Linked DNA regions of Homo sapiens: region 1 is linked to region 2. The links are contacts of gene promoters, found by promoter capture Hi-C in blood cells and fetal thymus (Javierre and others, 2016). All regions are on one chromosome and are shown on one strand. The core of a region is centred on a gene start or on the middle of the fragment in contact, and the rest is flanking DNA. Distances in the headings are between cores, read along the strand shown. Region 1 holds the start of ZNF8 (zinc finger protein 8). Region 2 holds the start of ZNF585A (zinc finger protein 585A).

Region 1 (6,527 bases), core at 648-3,147, about 21 Mb before region 2:
AGACAGGCAAAGGGCCATGAGGCAAGGAATAGAAGGTCTGTACCTCTCACAGCTGGAAAAGACGAGGAAACATTCTACCCTAGAACCTTGGTAGGGAGGGTAGCTCTGCTCATACCTTGATTCCAGACCAGAAAACCGATTTCAGACTTCTGACCTCCAGAACCTAAGAACAAATGTTTTAAGCCACAAAATTTGTAGTGAATTGTTACAGCAGACACAGATAACCAGATAAAACACTGGACCTTGAAGCTCTCCATTCTGGTCCTTGTCTCCTGTGATGGACAGTCTCCAAGATGCTCCCCCACCACCTCTGCCAATGACCTCCAGCCCTGGTGTGGTCCCCTCCAACACTCAACAAGGTTGACTTTGTAACCAGTAAGACACCGTGGAAGTGACAAGAGTGTGAATTCTGAATCCAGGTCATGGAAGGTGTTACAGTTTCTACCTTGCCCTCTCCTGGATCACTTGTTCTGTGGGAAGCCAGATGCCATGTTGCAAGGATCCCTAGCAGTTCCAAAGAGAGGCCTACATGGAGAACAACTGAGGTCTCCTATCAACAGACATGTGAGTGAGCCATCCTGGAGGTGGATCCTCCAGACTCAGGTCTCAGGTGACAACAGCTATGCTGACATCTTCACTGTAACTTCATGGGCCTGAACCAGAACCACCAGCTAGGACATTCCATTACTCCTGTCAGAACTCGTGAGATATTTATTGTTGTTCCAGGTCACGAAGTTTTGAGTTACACAGCAACAGGTAACTAATACACTTTCTCTCAAGCCTTTCTTACGACTCATTCCTTGTCCCCCATCCACAGCAAGAACAAAATAAAACGTGGTAGCATTTCATGCAAATTTGGAGCAACACACATCTGAAAACCTGCAACCTAAGATTATCAAGTCTCACTTTGTGTACCAAATCTGAAATAATGCAAATCCCCATGAACAAACCAACGACAAAAAATAAAAAAAAGTATAATTTCAAAGTTGCAGAGCTTGAGGAAGGATAATTATTGTTGTTTCCTGCCACGCGAGGCAGCTTTATGGAGAACACAGGCCGCAACCACTTTGTCTAGAAAGTGGAGCTCTGATGGCCAGATGGCCCTGCAAACACTGACCGCCCTGCACTGCAGTTCTCCCACAGTCTCGCAGGGGACGACCCTGGTGGTCACTCTCATCACACTCAGTGCGTGGTGACCCATCATTGCCCCCAAGAGGTTGTGCCCAAGCCCCAGGGCAGGGGCTCCGCGGTGCTGGGGTCCCGGTGGGTGTCCGCTGACTCCACGCGTTAAAGCATCTCTATTCGATGATTCTTGCCATCTGGGCACCCGGCCAACGCTACAATTACTGTTATCAGTCAACACGAGGACAGACCTTCCTGGAATGGGCAAGGGTGTCGGCGGGGCGGAGCAGAACGCAGGAGATGGGCCTGCTCGATTCTCTCGGGAATGACCGACCCCAGCCCTGGGGAGGACAGAGCCGCGTGGAGCATGCGCATTCGGGGGCCAGGCGCCTGGTTGGAATCCCGGCCCCCTCTCTGACCAGCCAGGACGGTCACCACGCCCCGACCCGCGTCTGAGTTTCCCCACGTGTCAAGGGCATTAACAGCGGTGCCGCTCTCATCGCGCCGCGAGGTGAAAGGGTCAGTCTGCGCGGGAGACGCTTGCCCGGAGCCCGCCGCCGTCGTTATTGTTGTTATTGTTACCTGAAGCCGGGCCGCCGGCGGCCCCACAGACATCACTCCCGCTACCCCTTCGTCCTCGGGGTCCATGCTGGATCGCCCAGTGAAGGACAGCGCCTGAGGTGATCCCCAGACCAGAGAGGCACTCCAGCCAAAGGGACCACCCGACTCGCCGAACGCCGGACAATGGCGGCCGCACCGGCGACGCGGCGACTACAACTCCCAGTAGGCCGTGCGGCGAACCACAGCCCTCGGCCAATGGGAGTCTCCGCTGGTCTGGCCTTCGACCAATGGAAGCATTATGGCCGATGGCCAATGGGAGCCCCCACCCGCTGGCCTCTGGCCAATGGGAGCACTCAGCTAAGGCTGGTGGGGGCGGTGTTGCTCGGGGCTGCGATGCCCCTTAGGTTGCGGGCAACCAGAGGCCTCACTCGTGGGCAGGAAGCAAGGGCGGACCCCGAGAGATGACTGATTGTGGGGGTGGGGACCGTCTGCTCCTCCTAATGGCTGGGGACCGTGCACGTCTGCGCGGGCCGGACCTGCTCTTCTCGGGAACTTGCGCGGGAGGAGGCCCGGAGCTGCGCCGCTTTACCCTCTGCTCCCCGGTGCCTAAAACGCACACGCATCAAAGTCACAGGACGAGTTAGAGGTTTGTTCATATAAAAGACTTTGGGCTTAGCGGCTGGAAGCGGGGAGGCTGGGAGCGGTGGTTGTGTTACAGGAAAGGGGTCCGATTCAGACCCCAAGGGAGGGTTCTTGGATCTCGCGCAAGAAAAAATTCAGGGCGAGTCCGCAGTGCAAAGTAAAAGCAAGTTTGTTGAGAAAGTAAAGTTGTGAAACAGCTACCCCATAGACAGTAGGACGTTCCTGAAAGTAAGAGGAACGTATGCACCCTAGGTACAATGCTTGTGTATATTTGGGCTAAAAATAGATTTTGGGGAGATGTGCTCTGCTACAAGGGTTTGTGAAAAAGGATTAATTTTCTTACTGTATTTTTCAAGAATCGATATTATTTTTAAAGCAAAATTAGGAATGCCTTTGTTCTCTAGATACCGGGATATCTGGACACTCCCAAGTCTGGGTCTGTTTTAGTACCCATTATTAATTTGTTCCCTTAACCGTAAACATCTAGAGGTTAGGAATACCTACTTTTCTGGGAATGCAGCCCAGCCTCATTTTCCTAGCCCTCACTCAAAATGGAGTCGCTCTGGGTCGAATGCCTCTGACAGCCCTATTGCTTCTCCCTGTGGGTGTTCACTTTGTGATGTGTCTTTTTCTGTGGGTCTGTTGTAGTCCATTAAAATGTTTATTAAAGGTCGGGCGCGGTGGCTAACGCCTATAATCCCAGCACTTTGGGAAGTCGAGGCGGGTGGATCACGATGTCAGGAGCTCGAGACCAACCTGGCCAATATGGTGAAACCCCGTCTCTACTAAAAATACAAAAATTAGCCCGGCGTGGTGGCGGGCACCTGTAGTCCCAGCTTCTCGGGAGGCTGAGGCAGGAGAATCGCTTGAACCTGGGAGGCGGAGGTTGCCGTGAGCCGAGGTCAGGCCACTGCACTCCAGCCTGGGTGACAGAGCAAGACTCCGTCTCAAAAAAAAAATAAAAAGTTATTAAAAAAGAAAAATGGGGAAGCAGATTTCCATTCAAAAATGTTGCATTCAAACCACAACAATTTTTAACTTTTTTAAATTTTACCAAGAGCCAGACACATAGCAGGGAACAGTATAGTTACTTGTTATTTGCTCACCCCCATGGGGCTGATGGTGTAGTCTGAGGGACTGAAGATCAACCATGACATGGCCCTTCACACCGTGTTGAAGGGGTGAAGACGTTACCAGTGGGGACGGAGGAGCTGACTCCCGAGGGGCTCAAGCTGGCCACACTCTCTCAGATCCTTCTGGCCGACTCCTGAGGGCTCAAGCTGGCCACACTCTCTCAGATCCTTCTGGCCCTGTACCGTCTCTGCTTTTTGCTGGGCCTCGTTCCTGAGAAGGAGCAGGTGTTAGGCAAGTTACACAAAATTATGAGAGGACATGGTTTTGGACTGAGCTCCTGCTCTAGGCCTCATGAGACCAGACCAAACCAAGACAGAGTCACTTAGGCTAAATGCCACATAATCAGACTGATACTTTAAGCAGGTAGATCCCTAAACAAACCAGATTTCCAGTCTACCTGAGCAGCATAATAAGGAAGTCCCCTCTGCTTTAATCCTTACAAGAAAAGTAACCTAGTGTTAACTAATTAGCCTTTTCTCTATCTTACAAAAACCACTATTCTACCATTTGCCCCGTGGGAGCTCTCATTCCGTTTTGCAGAGTGGAGGCTGCCCAGATTCATGAATCACAAATAAAAGCCAATTCGATCTTTAACCAAATTTGTTAAAATTCTGTCTTTTGGCTGGGTGTGGTGGCTCACGCCTGTGAGTGAATCCCAGCACTTTGGGAGGCTGAGGTGGGTGGATCACCTGAGGTCAGGAGTTTGAGACCACCCTGGCCAACATGGTGAAACCTTGTCTCTAATACAAATACAAAAATTAGCCAGGTGTGGTGGCGGGCACCTGTAATCCCAGATACTCAGGAGGCTGAGGCAGGAGAATCGCTTGAAACTGGGAGGCGGAGGTTGCGATTAGCTGAGATTGCGCCACTGCACTCCAGCCTGGGCGACAGAGTGAGACTCCATCTCAAAAATAAAATAAAATAAAAATAAAATTCTGACTTTTGACAGATGTCTTCACTCACCTGAGCAAGTGGCAGCTGCTGTGGGAACTGGATCAGGCAGCCTTCCAGGAGACTAAATCTGTCTTCTATTGGGAGTCCCAAAAAGCTCCCAGGCAGCATCCCCTTCTCTGTAGGCAGAGAAGGTACTAGGAGGATCTATTGCCTTCCCCTGCACAGTGGCCACCAGTGTTGGAGAGGTAGGGGCAGGTGTGCAAAGATCTATTCTCTTTAGGGGAAACCTGTGTGTTCTTTTTTTGTTGTTTATTTGTTTTTTGAGACAGGGTCTCACTCTGTTGTCCAAGCTGGAATGCAGTGCTGCAATCTTGGCTCATTGTAACCTCCACTTCCCAGGCTCAAGTGATCCTGCATCCTTAGCCTCCTGAGTAGCTGGGAGCACAGGTGAGAGCCACCACACTGGGCCAATTTTTGTAGAGACTGGATTTTGCCATGTTGCCCAGGCTGGTCTTGAACTCCAGAGCTCAAAGCAATCTTATCTGCCTCAGCCTCTGAAAGTGCTGGGATTACAGGAATGCGCCACTGCACCCGGCCCTGTGTATTCATTTTGGAGCCAGTCACTGGGCTCAGCTTTCCTCCTAGTTCTAATGGTGTGGAATCTGTGATTTTGATGTCCTATTATTTCCTCTTTCCTTTTTTTTTTTTTTTTTTTGAGACAGGGTCTCACCTGTTGCCCACTCTGGAGAGCAGTGGTGTGATCACAGCTCACTGCAGCTTCAACCTCTTGGGCTCAAGGGATTCTCCCACCTCAGCCTCATGCTACCATGCCTGGCTAATTTTTGTATTTTTTGTAGAGACAGGGTTTTGTGATGTTGCCTAGGATGGTCTTGAGCTCCTGATTTCAAGCAGTCCATCCGCCTTGGCCTCCCAAAGTGCTGGAATTACAAAAACGGTGCCCAGCCTATTTTTTTTTTCTTTTCTAGTTCTTGTTTATCTCCTTGATTATAAGGTAGGAGTTTGTCTATTGCAGTAGTTCTTAAAGTGTGGGTCAGGGAGCCCTGGGCGTTCCTGAGATCCTTTCAAGGGATCGGTGGGTTCAAAACTAAATTCATAATAATAATGAGATGTTGGCTTTTTCTTTTGTTGCCAGAGGGCTCAGGAAGGTCACCGGATGCCAGTGCCAGTTGGTGTCCAGGTTCTTGAAGCCATCACAGGAAAGAATTCAGGGATAAGTCAGAGTAAGCAGAAAGGCAAGAAGCTTTCATTGCAAAGTGAAAGGAAACACGGGAGACAAGTGTGGGGGGGCTCCTGGCTCCTGAGTCACACCCAACATTGTTTGCATTTCTCATTTTATGGGTGTTTAATTATGGGTGGAATAGTCATTCGGTATCTGGAAAAGGAGGGGATTTCAGGCACCACCCTCCCCCTGCCCCACCCCAGTTACCACCCCCTTTCTCCCTTATTTGGGTTTGCCTGGAAGAGTCATGGACCTGTCACCCTGACCAGGGTTTTGGCTGTCTTCTCTCCCTTATTTTGGGTTTTGTTATTCTGTGGTTTCTTTGCCTACTGCTTGTTTTAGTTGTCGTTTGGGTTTTTCCATTCTCCTGGACTACCCAGTGCTATTCCTCTCTCATTTTCATAGGAATATACAATAGAGTTTTCCAGAGGCTGCTGGATGAGTCATATTGTAACAGATGCAATGGGAACATGGAGCTATGGGAACTCAACTGCCTTAAGTGAAGCCAGACATTAAGGAGATTTGAAAAAATATAATACAATGCCACTCTTCTCCCTATTTCTGTTTTGGAAAATGCTGTTTTTCGTAAAGTAGGTGCTTTTTAAAAAATATGTTGTATTAGTCATGAGGGCTCTGGTAACAACATACCACAAATGGGGTGGCTTAAACGACATAAATTTATTGTTACAGTTGTGGAAGCCAGAAGTCTGAGATCAAAGTGTTGGCATAGTTGGTTCCTTCTGAGGGCTACAAGAAAGTATATGTTCCATCCCTTTCCTTAGTTTTTGGTGGTTTGCTGGCAATCTCTGGCATTCCTTGGCTTGTAGATGTCTGACTTTGTCTTCAAATGTCATTTTCCCTGTATGCGTGACAAGTTGTCTGTCTCCAAATTTCTGTTTTTATAAGGACAACAGTCATAATGGACCAGGGCTCA
Region 2 (5,991 bases), core at 730-3,229:
TACATCAAAGTATAACTATAATGATCTTGAAAGCATTTATTGTTATGGGTATTGGACATCTGGACTTTCTGTTGTTCTAGGAGTTTGTCTTTGCAGGCATTACAGGGCTGCTTCCTTCGCTGTAAACACATTAGGACCATGAGTTGTGACTTGCAATGAATGTGCCTTGCTAGTGTCAAGATGGAGCTGAACTTAAAATGGTGTCACTCTGGGTCTCCTAGGTTTCATCTTCCCTAACACTATGACCACACCTGCTGTCTTCTTGATGTTTCCTTGTAAATGTTTTTAATTCCTTTCTTTTTAAATTAGAAATTTACTATGAAAATTTCACACAAATACTATGGAAGAGAACATTATAATGAGTTCTGTCTACTTATCACTCTGCTTTAACATTTATCAACATTTTCTTTTGCAATACCATATACCCCTTCTCAGTGGAGTTTTTTTTTTCTCAGTGGAGTTTTTAAAGCTAATATTATTCCACCCATAAATATTTCCACACGAATCCCTAAAAGTTAAGTCATCTTCTTTTTAACAGAGCTGCATTACTGACAAAATCAACAGTAATTCTTAGCCCCTTGGTAGAAATTGTGTGTTTACTAACGGACTTCCACAGATGTTTCCTTAGACCGTCCTTTCGGAGAAGAAAGAAAACCTGAGATCAGCAGAGTCTAATTCTCTAAACATATTTTTAAGCCGAGTCCCAGAGACAGACATAACTGGCCTGAAGGCATCCAGCATGCCCACATCAGAGTGTAGGTTCAATTCCCTGAAAACAAGTTTCCCACCTGCTGGAACTGAACACATTGGGTAGTAATTTCCCACCACTGTTCAGGTAGAACTTCCTGTCAGAAGCTGAGCTGTGAATCATGTTTAGGAGTTCACCAAGTGAAAGGAATTGTATCTTTACAACTCCTCATCCACACCCTCCAAAAAGGGGAGTAAGGAGGTTTCAGAATTTCCACAGAGGAGAAGCTAAGGGTCAGAGACTGCACTTAAAGCTTCATTGACATGGTAAGGCGATTGTTATTAATTATATTTTAACTTCAAGGTAAATAAAAACAGTCTTCTTTAGGTGCTTTTAGTAACACGTTGGCCATACTAAAGACTATTAGTGTTGTTATTATTGCTGCCTACTATAGTTGCACTTGAGGTATTTAGTGTGGAGGGTAATGGGTGATTCAAATCTCTATTCACCTTCCCACCCGACCCAGCCCTTCAGAAGGGGACGCCCGGACTTCTCCTCCCTCCTCTGGTGGTATCTCCCAGGAGAGGATTGTATTAATACTATTGGACTTCTACCCTATTTCCCAAGGCGGTTTCTCCCATTAAAAGTTGTACCACTCTTCCTGCAGCCTACTACTCATTCAGATGTCTCTCAGACTTTCAGGGTGGTTTCACTCAAGAGATGACTCCCCTAGTGACCTTTCCACCTTTTCCCTGAATGGCGTCTGTAAAAAATGGACTGTACTATCCTGATTCCTCCTATCATCTGCCTGTGGTTTCTCCCAGGATCCCCTTCACTTGGTGATTTTTCCCTGGCTCCTCTATTCCCTGGTAATTATTATCCTCAGTGTCCTGTATTCAGAAAGGTAACTTAGCTTTTCTAAATATAACATACAGCACCAGACCCACATTTCCAGTAACTTTCTCCTCCGAAATAGAAGCCTAGTCAGACAAGGGTCACACTCCAGCATCCTATGTAACTATACCTGCCTCGCTCTAGGAAACCCTGCCAGCGGCCAATTCCTCTGCTCTACGGAATGGATATGCTTTCAAAATGGCGGCCCACGCGAATAAACACCATAAGGGCGCGGCCATGTTCTCTGCCGGACAGCGCCACATTACGGAACCTGTGCGCTGTGTCTGCGCCCTGTTGACTGTTCGAGGAAACTGGCTTCCAAGTTTATTCAGAGCATGCGCCATATCAACAGCCTACAAAGGGGAGGTGCTAGAAGTCGGACCGGAAGTGGAAGTGGTCTTCCAAGGCTTTTTTGCCGCTGGTGTCAGGAGTATTTTCATATTCCAATACCGATAAATCTTTGAGGTGATTTTGGTTGATCACGATTGGGGTTTCTGTGGAGCCAGTAATAGGGGGTGTCGAGGTTGCCTGTGGAGTTAGTGATTGCGGTTTCAGGCTTCGGTGATGGGGTTCTGTGGCGTCCGTTGTTGATTGTGACGGATTTCTCAGGTCATTGATGGAGCTCTTTGGGATGAGTGATTGAGGTTTGGGGGTCAGTGATGGGAGTCTGTGGTCAGTGACAGAGCCTGTAGGGTCAGTTATGGTGATCGGTGAGGACTGTAATCAGCTTGCTTTCTAACCTGAGTTGAAAGTTCAGCTTTTTAATTTTCAGTCTTCTTTAATATAAAAATTCTCAAGTTTTGGTGAATCTTTGTATTAAAAATTGTTCAAATCTAAGTGGTTTTTTCTTTGATCCATGAGTTATTTAGAAGTTCCTTTTTAAAGTAATGTCTGTTTAATGGTCAAATTGAAAAATTGCTTTATGACCTAGTTCGTGGTCAGTTTTCATGAATGTCACATCTATTACATAGAAACAGTGTACTATGTTCTCTAATTGTATTGTTATAGATATTAATTAAGCATATATTCAAAAAATATATCTGTCTCCTCACAGATTATTTTGTCTGCTTAATTACAGAGGAAGGTAAAGTACTCAACTCTGGAAAGGTTATTTGTCCATTTGTCCTTCTTTTTCTGCTTTATATATGTGAAATTATTAGGAATAACTATGTGCACTTTTTTTTTTTTTGAGATGGAGTCTCGCTCTGTCACCCAAGTTGGAGTGCAGTGGCGCGATCTCAGCTCACTGCAACCTCTGCCTAGTGGGTTCAACGGATTCTCCTGCCTCAGCCTCCAGAGTAGCTGGGATTAGAGGCACCCGCCACCACGCCCAGCTAATTTTTTGTATTTTTTAGTAGAGACGGGGATTCACCATGTTGGCCAGGCTGGTCTCAAACTCCTGACCTCAGGTGATCTACCTGCCTCCGCCTCCCAGAGTGCTGGGATTACAGGCGTGAGCCACTGCGCCCGGCATATGTGCATTTTTAATACTTTATAGATATGACTAAGTAGCTCAAAATATAACAATTCAAGCTTATACCAACAATTTATAAAATAACTCATTTTCCCAGATGCTTTTCCAGCAGTGGATATTGTTGCATTTTAAAAGTTTTTAAAATTTTGAGGGAAAATTATATCTAATTGCTCCAATGCATTTTCCAGTTACTAAAGTTGGCATCTTATTTGGTTAATTGCCATTTGTTTCCTTTTCTGTGAATTTTCATATCTTTTGTCCTACTTTTTTTTGTGGTATATTTTAACATAAAGTTAGGAAATATCATCTAATCAAAAGTATCTGATTTTTCTGTTACAGAGTCTGTGTTTCCTCTCACGTGTAATAAGATCCCTCCCAGCCCACCACAGTGTTATACACATGTATACTTCTAAAATTTATTTTAATAGTCTTTGTGATTTAACAAATACACATAATTAAGTGATCAGTCCTGCTGGCATTTGCCTACTGAATAGTGTGTGATGGAGATCTAGTTTGTTTTTTTCCAGGTGGCCAGCCAGTTATATCACTGCATTATATCACTGCCATTTATGCAATGAATGTCTTATGCACACTCATTTGAATACCACTTTTATCACATATATAGATCAATATTGTCTGGTATATTTATTGTTTTACTTGTTTTTATTACATTGTTTTTATATTGTTTTAATATCTGATAATGCATGGTAATCGCTGATATGTATTGTATGATTTTTGTGTGCCTGGGAGGTGTTGAGTACTTTACAAGTATTATCTCATTTAATTTTTGTAACTTTGAGATAAGCATTTTCATCCTCATTTCTGAAATTAAAAGTGAAGAAATGGCTGGGCGCAGTGGCTCACGCCTGTAATCCCAGCACTTTGGGAGGCAGAGGCGAGCGGATCAGGAGGTCAGGAGATCCAGACCATCCTGGCCAACATGGTGAAACCTCGTCTTTACCAAAAATTAGCTGGACATGGTGGCGCATGCCTGTAATCCCAGCTACTTGGGAGGCTGAGGCAGGAGAATTGCTTGAACCTGGGAGGCAGAGCTTGCAGTGAGCCGAGATCGCACCACTGCACTCCAGCCTGGCGACAGAGCGAGACTCCGTCTCAAAAGAAAGTGAAGAAACTTCTGTTCTCATAGGTGAAAAGTGTCAGAGCTGCAGTTCAAATCTGCAGTAACATTACTCCATCTCTCATGACTTTTCCCATATTTCACCGTAACTAATACCTATCACAGATTTTGTTAAATTTTATGTTCTCCTCAGCGCTGGTTCTCAAAGTGTGGTCCCTGTACTGACAGCATCAGCGTTTCCTGGGCACCAGTTAGAAACGAAACTTTTTGGGTTCTACTTTAGACCTACTGAATCAGAAACTGTGGAGTAGGCTGAGAATTTTTAACTGTGTTTCATTTAACAGGTCCTCCAGGTAACTTGAATGCATACCCATTTGAGAACCACTGCTTTGGTTTCTAGCTCAGGGACCTGCACCTTGATATATCCAGGAAGTGCTTATGTGTTGAATGTGAAATGACTGACTATGGGAACATTGTCTTTCCAGGTTTCTGGGTGTCTCTGGGGAGCCCCTGGGCCAGATTTTCCTCTAGACTCCAGCCCATCTCTTCAGAGCAGCTCTGCTTGAGTTCACAGATGACTGCCAAGCTTCAGACACCCTACAGAAAAAGGGTTGAGACCCAGTGTGGCCATGCCAGCTAATTGGACCTCACCTCAGAAATCCTCAGCCCTGGCTCCAGAGGATCATGGCAGCTCCTATGAGGTGAGAAGGAGGAGTCCCAGGGGGGTGGGAATTCAATCCAGGACTAGGTATCTCTGGTCTGTCACTAGAACCTCATGACTGAGGGAGGGAGCTGGGCCACAGGAAGCAGCTGGACTCTAGACCTGCTGCTCCTGAAACAAATCTTGATCTTCCTGTTGAGAATGAGCAACATGTGGGTAATGTCTTCGTCTCTGGAGGCCATCTGTGCGACAGTGGAGAGGTGGACTATTAAGAAAAACTGTTGTTTATTTTGTCATCACACTACATTGATCTTTGGGCTGTGGATAGATTTTCCTGGTTAGAAGTCACTTTTCTGTGGGATTTTCAAAGTATTTCTCTTGTTTCTTCCTAAACTGCCTCCTCAAACACAAATATTTTCTTTCTTTCTTTTTTTTTTTTTTTTACATTTCTGTTTTTCGGATATTGGTTCTCCATTTTTTTCCCTCTACTGTTTTCTATTTCTTTGCTGCTCTCTTTTTCAGGAAGCTTTGTCACATTTGCCTTCCAGCCCTTCTTTTGAGTTTCTCGTTACCACTATCAACATTTTAATTCAACGTTTTAATTTTTAATAACTGTAATTTATTTTCTAAATATTCTTTTTGATTAGCATCTTGTTCTTATTTCATGGGTATAATTTTATTTCTTATGCCTCTGGAGATATTGTGATAGTGTATTAGGAAAGTTTAGTTTTCTGAATAGGGAATATATACACTTCGTTCAAAAATAATATTGGTAAAATGGGAATAATAGTAAAAAATAAAAATTAAAAACAATTAGAAATGCATTTAAAGGCAACACACCCTGAAAAGTGTTATAGGAAACAAATTCAGGGGAAACATGGATCTGTGATTCACCCACCTCCGTTCCCCACCTACCCCCATGTTTCTCAACATACAGGACCGATTTTATTCTTTTTCTTTGATTGCTTAGTTCTATAAACAAGTAAAAACAAGTACACATTTTTTTCTTTCTATTTCACAAAAGGTGCCATAGTAGACTAAATTTTCACACATTGCTTTTTAAATATTTGTTTGGTAAAATACAGCTCATATTATGAACTATGTAGCAGTAGGCATTCTTCTCATGTCTTTCCTTTCTGTTGCATGTGTAAGTTGTAGTAGAATTTCATTTCTGGTTTTAGTCACAGGTAATAAGA

Evidence for each region. Contacts are between HindIII fragments. The CHiCAGO score rates a contact against its expected background, and 5 or more counts as called.
Region 1: a contact is called between the fragment with the promoter of ZNF8 here and the fragment with the promoter of ZNF585A in region 2, in 1 of 17 cell types (total CD4 T cells). The highest score is 5.8, in total CD4 T cells.

The regions. Positions count from the first base shown.
Region 1 is chr19:58,274,325-58,280,851 of GRCh38, reverse strand. ZNF8 (zinc finger protein 8) reads right to left here and starts at 1,897. Exons shown (of 4, transcript NM_021089.3): 1 at 1,705-1,897. The coding sequence starts at 1,770. ZNF8-DT (ZNF8 divergent transcript) reads left to right here and starts at 2,110. Exons shown (of 3, transcript NR_187495.1): 1 at 2,110-2,329. It overlaps ZNF8-ERVK3-1 (ZNF8-ERVK3-1 readthrough (NMD candidate)), which reads right to left and starts at 1,886. Exons shown (of 7, transcript NR_144447.1): 1 at 243-1,886. It also overlaps a transcript of ZNF544 not described here. RefSeq lists enhancers at 1,302-1,351, 1,772-1,821. The HindIII fragment of the contact is 22,069 bases long and covers 1-5,616 here.
Region 2 is chr19:37,168,683-37,174,673 of GRCh38, reverse strand. ZNF585A (zinc finger protein 585A) reads left to right here and starts at 1,979. Exons shown (of 5, transcript NM_001288800.2): 1 at 1,979-2,047; 2 at 4,620-4,835. The coding sequence starts at 4,764. RefSeq lists enhancers at 1,753-2,047, 1,889-2,078. The HindIII fragment of the contact is 2,114 bases long and covers 1,004-3,117 here.